Linked DNA regions of Homo sapiens: region 2 is linked to region 1. Evidence: promoter capture Hi-C in human tissues and cell types (Jung and others, 2019). All regions are on one chromosome and are shown on one strand. The core of a region is centred on a gene start or on the middle of the fragment in contact, and the rest is flanking DNA. Distances in the headings are between cores, read along the strand shown. Region 1 holds the start of A2ML1 (alpha-2-macroglobulin like 1). Region 2 overlaps A2ML1-AS1 (A2ML1 antisense RNA 1).

Region 1 (3,969 bases), core at 685-3,184:
TACAGTCAACAATAATTTATTGCACATTTAAAAATTACTAAGAGAGTATAATTGGATTGTTTGTAATACAAGGAAATGATAAATGCTTGAGGTGATGGATACACATGTACCCTGATGTAATGATTACACATTGTGTGTGTGTATAAAAATATCTCATCTACCCCATAAATATATATACACCAGCTATGTACCCACAAAAATTTTAAATAAAAAAATAAAAAAAACCCAAACATAGTTTCTTTTCAGGGTGCCTGACTTTGAAATCTCAGAATGAAGTGCCCCTGTAAGGACGAATGAACAAATACAAAAAAAAAAAAAAAAAAAAAAAAAAACCCCAGTAGCTCAAGCCAAATGCCCTCAGTGCTTTCTTAGCCATTTACAAGCAGTTTGTTGTAAGGCCCAGCAACCCAGTTATACTTGCCAAATTCTATTCCAGAAGAAATGTGTACTTTTGTTTTAGATACACAAACTCAGTAGCAACCCCCACCTACTTCTCTTGCTTGTGTAGCGCAGCATGTATTCAACACTTGCACTACTTAATCCCCCCAGATTTTCCTCTCCTCTGCACTCCTTTTTTTCCAAAGCCTACTGTCAAACCACAAATCCCCTCTTTACCCCTGTGCACAGCGGTTTCCCCAGGTTTTAGTCGAACCCCAAATATGTGACTCTTACCTTGCTGCCCTGGGGTGTAGAGAGGTTTGTCAGTCTGTACAAAGGTGCCGTTCCCCTGCCTCTGAATTAGAACCTTTTTCTTCTCCTCAAAGCTGATGTTATTTCCAACTCCCGACACCCGGATTGTGGCCACTTCTTCTGTGCCACCAGCAGGAGGTGGTACCTGACCAAGAAAGGGGACTTCTGGGGAGGGGTAAGGGATTGGGGGAACAGAATCAACTGGTCTCAACCCAACAGTGAGTTAAAGGAAAGAGCTGAGTTAGATGGGGGTAGCAAGGATAGAGACATAAAACAAATTACCACGAGGAAGAATTAAGGTCAGGAACTAAAGGGAGAAATCCTAGGTCGAGGAAACCGTGGGTGAGTTATAGCCGGGGATTGAGGTTAAGTTGAGAAAAAATAGGTTTAGAGGCCGTGGCAAAAGATAACAGAAATTATACTTAAAGTAGATTATAGTGAGCCTAGGGAGGAGAATAGGCAAGTAAGGGATTCGAGTGAGGGCTGAGTCTGTGCTTACAAGAAAGGAGATACAATGTAAGTGCCTCTTCTTCAGTCCAGAGTATTCTAGCAACTTCTGGGTCTTGTCCTTGGTCTCCAGAGTAACCGTGAATTTAACATCACTGTACCCAGGGCTCAGGTCCAAACAAACCTTCTGAACGGAGGGGAAATTTAGCCGGGCTGGTAATGTCACCAGGTAGTTTCTATTAAAGGAGCAGAAGGATTTCAGGGCAATAATGATTCATTCACTCGAAAAATCCAGCACTCTCCTAAGCGCTCAGCAAGTAGCAGTGAATTAGACAGACCAAGCCCCTGCCTTCCTTATGCACCTCATTTTCTACAAGAAGCAGAGGGGCAACGACTCAGTGCACAGTCTTCAACTTCCGCCATCAGGAGGCCCTCACCGAGCACACATGCCTAGAGCACCAAGGAGGAAATTAGGCCTATTTCAGAAAACAGGGCACATTTTAATATTTATCTTTTTTAAAGCTTCCTCTTCATGCGTCAGCCTCCCTCTCTGGGTAAAGGATCAGTGGAACCAAAGAAGAGAAAAAAGGAGGAGGAAATTAAGATAAACCAAAGTTGATCTCCCCATCTCCATATAAATGTTTGAGAAAGTTAGGCGAAGAAGCCGCTGCCCTAATAAACCAATTCTGACACCAAGCACTCACGGAAGTTCTTCTGCAATGGCTGGTGATAGGGCCAACATTCCTAGAAGGAGCTGAGCCCACATCTTTGTGGGTGAGACAGATTTTTCCAGGGTCAGGGGCAGAGATCGCTCCGCGTAGCTTTATATACTAATTCCAGGTAGGGTGTGCAGTGATGACTGATGCTATAGTCAGTCACCTCCTGGCACCTGGAACACAGGAGGACTGTGTTCCTCCTTCTGTAACCACCAGGTTAGGTGGTGGACCAGGGTAGGGCCACTATTCACTTCTTTAAAGTTGTTTCTGCCTGGAACATCCATACTGGTTCAGCCAGTTTTGGGGGAAAACCAGAGCTGAGTATTCATAATGGTAAAGCTCTCAGAACATATTTTGAACTCCTCCCTTTTTTTCTGGTCTCATTCCAATTCCTGTTCTCATTTAATGTCCTTATTTTCTTTTATTATTCAATTAAGGTGTAGTTGGGAACACGGGTATGAGAACAGTTTCAATAGAAAAGCAGTAAACTTGGCCGGTCACAGTGGCTCACGCCTGTAATCCCAGCACTTTGGGGGGTTGAGGTGGGCAGATCACCAGGTCAGGAGTTCAAGACCAGCCTGGCCAACATAGTGAAACCCTGTCTCTACTAAAAATACAAAGAAAAAAAAATCAGCTGGGCATAGTGGTGGGTGCCTATAGTCCCAGCTACTTGGGAGGCTGAGGCAGGAGAATCGCTTGAACCCGGGAGGTGGAGGTTGCAGTGAGCCGAGATCATGCCACTTTACTCCAGCGTGGGTGACACAACGAGACTCTGTCTCAAAAAAAAAAAAAATTAATACTACTCAGTATTGTTGTGACTGTATGGAAATAGGGACACACACAGTCCTAGAGAAAATAGAATGTGGATAACTTTCTCATGGCAATTTTGTAATACACACCAAAGCCTTTGAGATTTGCATATTCTTTCACTCAGCAACTCCTACTCTGGAAATGTTTCTTAATGAGGAAAAAAAGGACAGCATGCATGTATGCACAAGTGTAACACTGAGTTTTTTCACACTGTTCTTTCTTTTTTTTCTTTTCTTTATTTTTTATTTTTTTGAAGTAGAGTCTCACTTTATCACCCAGGCTGGAGTGCAGTGGCACAATCTCAGCCCACTGCAGCTTTGACCTCCTGGGCTCAAGCGATCCTCCCACCTCCACCTCCTGAGTAGCTGGGACCACAGGTAGGCACCAACACTCCTGGCTAATTGTTTTGTATTTTTAATAGAGACAGGGTTTCACCATGTTGCCCAGGCTAGTCTCGAACTCCTGAGCTCCAGGGACCACCTCAGCCTCCCAAAGTGCTGGGATTACAGGTATGAGCCACCGTGCCCAGCCCACAGTGTTCTTTATGATGGTAATACTTAGAAGTCACCTAAAATATAAATTAGTCTAAGTGCAGTGGCTCATGCCTATAATCCCAGCTTTTGGGAGTCAGAAGCTGGAGGATTGCTTGAGCCCAAGAGTTTGAGACCAGCCTGGGCAACATAGTGAGACCCCGTTTTGTAACCACCCAATGGATTCACCTTGCTTGCTGCCTAGACAGAGCCGATTTATCAAGACAGGGGAACTGCAATGGCAAAAGAGTAATTCACGCAGAGCCGGCTGTGTGGGAGACTGGAGTTTTATTATTACTTAAATCCTTGAGCCTTCGTGGATCAGAGTTTTTAAAGATAATTTGGCAGGTAGGGGCTTGGGAAGTGGGGAGTGCTGATTGCTCAGGTTGGAGATGGAATCATAGAGGGTCGAAGTTAGATTTTCTTAATGTCTTCTGTTCCTGGGTGAGATGGCAGAACTGGTTGGGCCAGATGACTGGTCTGTGTGGTGTCAGCTGATCCCATGGAGTGCAGGGCCTGCAAAATAACTCAATTACTGATCTTAGGTTTTACAGCAGTGATGTTATCCCCAGGAGCAATTTGGGGAGGTTCAGACTCTTGGAGCCAGAGGCTGCATGACCTCTAAACTGTAATTTCTTTTTTTTTTTTTTTGAGACAGAGTCTGGCTCTACCGCCCAGGCTGAAGTGCAATGGCGCGATCTCGGCTCACTGCAAGCTCCGCCTCCCGGGTTCACGCCATTCTCCTGCCTCAGCCTCCCGAGTAGCTGGGACTACAG
Region 2 (3,969 bases), core at 530-3,029, 38 kb after region 1:
TAGCCAATACCCAAACCCCCATTGTATCTTCAAAGTAAATAACTTGTTTTGATTTTACAGGCTCATAGGTAGAAGGAACTCATTTCCACATAAGAATTTGGATTTGAAACTTGGAACTTTTGAATGAATGCTGGAATGAGTTAAGACTTTGCGGGGACTGTTGGGAAGGCGTAATTGTACTTCGTAATGTGAGGACGAGATTTGGGAGGGGCTGGGATGGAATGATATAGTTTGCATATTTGTCTCTGCCCAAATCTCATGTTGAACTGTAATCCCCAATGCTAAAGGTGGGGCCTCGTGGGAGGTGTTTGGGCCGTAGGCGCAGATCCTGCGTAGCTTGCTGCTGTCTTCATGACAGTGAGTTCTCTGGAGATCTGGTCATGTGTGTGGCATCTTCCCCCATTGGCTCCTGCTTTCACCATGTGATGTACCTGCTCTGTCTTTGGCTTCCGCCATGAAATGCAAGCTTCCTGAGGCCTCCCCTCAGGAAGGAAGATGCTGCTATGCTTCCTGTAGGAACATGAGCCAATTCTTTTCTTGTAAATTAACCAGTCTCAGGTATTTCTTTATAGCAATGCAAGAATGGCCTAATACGTGGGCCATCTGGGCATTCCATAGAACATTACATCAATGACATCATGCTAAATAAGCAAAATGAATGTAAGGTAGCTAGCACACCGGAAGCCTTGCTATGTGTCCCAGGTGAGAGAGAAACTCTACATAGATTTGGGGATCTGCAATTCCTTTTTTTTTTTTTTTATTTTAAGATGGAGTTTTGCTCTTGTCGCCCAGGCTGGAGTGCAATGGTACGATCTCGGCTCACTGCAACCTCCGCCTCCTGGGTTCAAGCAATTCTCCTGCCTCAGCCTCCCAAGTAGCTGGGACTACAGGTGCGCGCCACCACGCCTGGCTAATTTTTGTATTTTTAGTAGAGACAGGGTTTCACCATCTTGGCCAGGCTGGTCTCAAACTCCTGACCTCATGATCCACCCGCCTCGGCCTCCCAAAGTGCTGGGATTACAGGCTTTGTAATCCCAGAGCCACCGGGTGAGCCAATGCTCCCGGCCAGGATCTGCCATTCCTTTAAGGGTTCTAGGAGACCAGGGGACATGGGCATGCTGGAATACTCTACAAAGTAAAAAGACACACTACATTTTGCATCACCTGCTACAAGGAAGCAAGCACTGTAACTCTGGGGTTCTCTAGATTCAGAAAGCAAGACATTCCACCTAGAAACACTACTCCAACCCATATAGTAAATGACATGAAAAAAATGTTAGGCTTGAGTAGGGCCTTGGAGCAAGAAAGGGCTGTTGAAAATTAAGATTCAGGCTATGATGCAAGCAGCCCTACAAACTGGACCACATGATCTGATAAACTTTATAGTATAAGAGGGTATCAGTGGCAGGAAAAGATGCAATGTGATGTGGAGTTTATATCAGAAGCTCATGGAACTGTGGAGGGGCTACCCAAAGGTGTAAAGTGGATCTGTGCAGTGTTAAGGAGTGGAATTGTGCCACTCAGTTCTCAAGAAAACTGGATGCAAGTAACAAATCTGACAGCCACCAGCTGCTAGTCCTCCTGATCTGTTACAGCACTCACATGAAAACCATGTGTTCTCCCCAGGCTGCTCTGGACTAGTAGTCAGGCCATCTCTGCCCAATCTGGGACTGCTCTTAATAGGTAATCTGCTCTGAGATTCCTCATCAGGCTGGGAGACTCTCAGAGCAGCTGAGGTTTGAGTTCTCTTCTCTCTCTTCTGTCACATGCACATTGCATTCTGAAGGCCTTCCCTGCCTACTGATCCCTCTCCCTTGTATCCCTCACAGGCATTTCCCTCAGTACAGCTCTAGTGTATCTGACTCCACCTTGGTGTCTGCCTTTTGGAGGATCCAAGGTGACACTACCATGCATGCTTTAACAATAAACTTGTTAAATGATGATAATCAAAGTGTTTTTTTTTGAGACAGGGTCTTACTCTGTTACCCAGGCTGCAGTGCAATGGCATGATCATGGCTCACTGCAGCCTCGATCTCCTGGGCTCAGGTGATCCTGCCACCTCAGCCTCCTGAGTAGCTGGGACAAGTGTGCACCACCACGCTGGGCTCATTTTTTTGTAGACACCGGATTTTACCATGTTGCCCAGGCTGGTCTTGAACTCCTGGGCTCAAGTGAGCCGCCCACCTCAACCTACCAGTGTTGGCATCACAGGCGTGAGGCACCATGCCCAGCTAAGGCTTTTCAAGCGATTCTCCTGCCTCAGCCTCCTGAGTAGCTGAGATTATGCGCCACCATGCCTGGCTGATTTTTATATATATAATTTTTAGTAGAGATAGATAGGGTTTCACCATGTTGGTCAGGCTGGTCTCGAACTCTTTGACCTCAAGCAATCTGCTCACCTGGGCCTCCCAAAGTGCTGGATTACAGGCGTAGGCCACCATGCCCAGCATCATGCTTTTTTTTTTTTTTTTTTTGGTGACGGAGTCTCACTCTGTCGCCCAGGCTGGAGTGCAGTGGTGTGTTCTTGGCTCACTGCAACCTCTGCCTCCCGGGCTCAAGGGATTCTGCCTCAGCTTCCCAAGTAGCTGGAATTACAGGTGCCCGCTACCATGCCCCACTAATTTTTTGTATTCTTAGTAGAGACAGGGTTTCCAGGCCAGGCTGGTCTTGAACTCCTGACCTCAAATGATCTGCCCGCCTCAGCCTCCCAAAGTGTTGGGATTGCAGGCATGAGCTACCGTGTCCGGCCATTAAATTTTAATAAGATAGTTGCCATTGCGTTGCAATTGTCTACAGTATTCACATGCTCTACAGGATAGTAGCTTACAAGCAGTAAGCTATACCACATAGCCCAGGTGTATAGTAGGCTGTACCATATAGGTGTAAGTACACTCTATGATGTTCAGGGTGAAATTTTTAAAAAGTTTGCATTTCTTCAGAGATTAAAAAGTACAGCAACAACTATTCAGCATGGACAGATAAAAGTGTGATTAAAAAGGACAGGGGAAAATCCATTGAATAGTGCTCACCTATGTGCCAAAAGAGGAGTAATCATTTTAGAAGGTATCATAGAAATCAGTCTGTTAAGAACCAAAGGACTCAAGAGCAAAAGGCGAAGAGTAGAAAAAAAGGGAATGACATGTGGAGCTAGAAATCAAGTCTAGATATCTGGACCAAAGTGAACTGATATAAAGAACAAGTCACACGGCATGCTATGTTATTTCCAGCGCATAGTGTCTTTATTTAGAAAACAGACGGAATCAAACAGGTTGGAGTTATTGCTTTCTTGTTCTGTATATTCATATTCTCCACTTGAAAAAGCACACAGTCAAATCTATCTTCATCCATTCTGTTGATGAGGGTAAGCAAAAAAGATCACTGGTTACTTCAAAAGAACCTAGGGGGGAAAAACACAACTTATTTAAATCATAGATTTTAAAAGTCTCTATAACCAGGATAAGAAAAAATACAAATAAAGACAGAAAATCAACTAACATGACAATAAAACATTCTAAATTGATTAGACTACCAAAAACCACAGTTTTGTGTTATTATCACTTTGTCTTGGTGAGCTCAGTTAACAAAGATATACTCTGATTCTGACTTAGAAGACATTTAATGTTCTTATCATTAAAAAATAAAAGCTAAATCTATTACTGTTTTACAAGAGCAACCTTATTTCCCAAATTTATTTGACTCTCCTTCAGGAAAAACTATTCTAACTCCCTGGAAATTGTTCTCTCTAGTGAGTGAACAGTCGCAAGTTCAATTTATAGGTCCATAATATTTTCTACTTAATTAAGATGCTGACACCAAAACAGCCAAAATGTGCTTCCTTTTCTAATCTGCAAGTTTTGTGACTTATTTTAGACAGCTTATGTTAAATATATATATGTGTGTGTGTATAAAACCACAAAGATGTCTCCGTACTATTACTCCTTAGCAATCCTATAATAAAGACAATTATGC

The links. Contacts are between HindIII fragments. The study calls those that stand out against the background at their distance.
Region 2: a contact is called between a fragment that was not itself captured here and the fragment with the promoter of A2ML1 in region 1, in 3 of the 25 tissues and cell types used here (H1 embryonic stem cells, mesendoderm cells and thymus).

Annotation. Positions count from the first base shown.
Region 1 is chr12:8,820,586-8,824,554 of GRCh38, reverse strand. A2ML1 (alpha-2-macroglobulin like 1) reads right to left here and starts at 1,934. Exons shown (of 36, transcript NM_144670.6): 1 at 1,842-1,934; 2 at 1,190-1,373; 3 at 673-835. The coding sequence starts at 1,903. All of the region lies in intron 1 of A2ML1-AS1 (A2ML1 antisense RNA 1), which reads left to right. The HindIII fragment of the contact is 7,738 bases long and covers 316-3,969 here.
Region 2 is chr12:8,782,340-8,786,308 of GRCh38, reverse strand. All of the region lies in intron 1 of A2ML1-AS1 (A2ML1 antisense RNA 1), which reads left to right. It also overlaps a transcript of RIMKLB not described here. Among named protein-coding and RNA genes, the nearest start is that of LINC02972, 3.9 kb to the left of the region's middle. The HindIII fragment of the contact is 5,071 bases long and covers 1-3,969 here.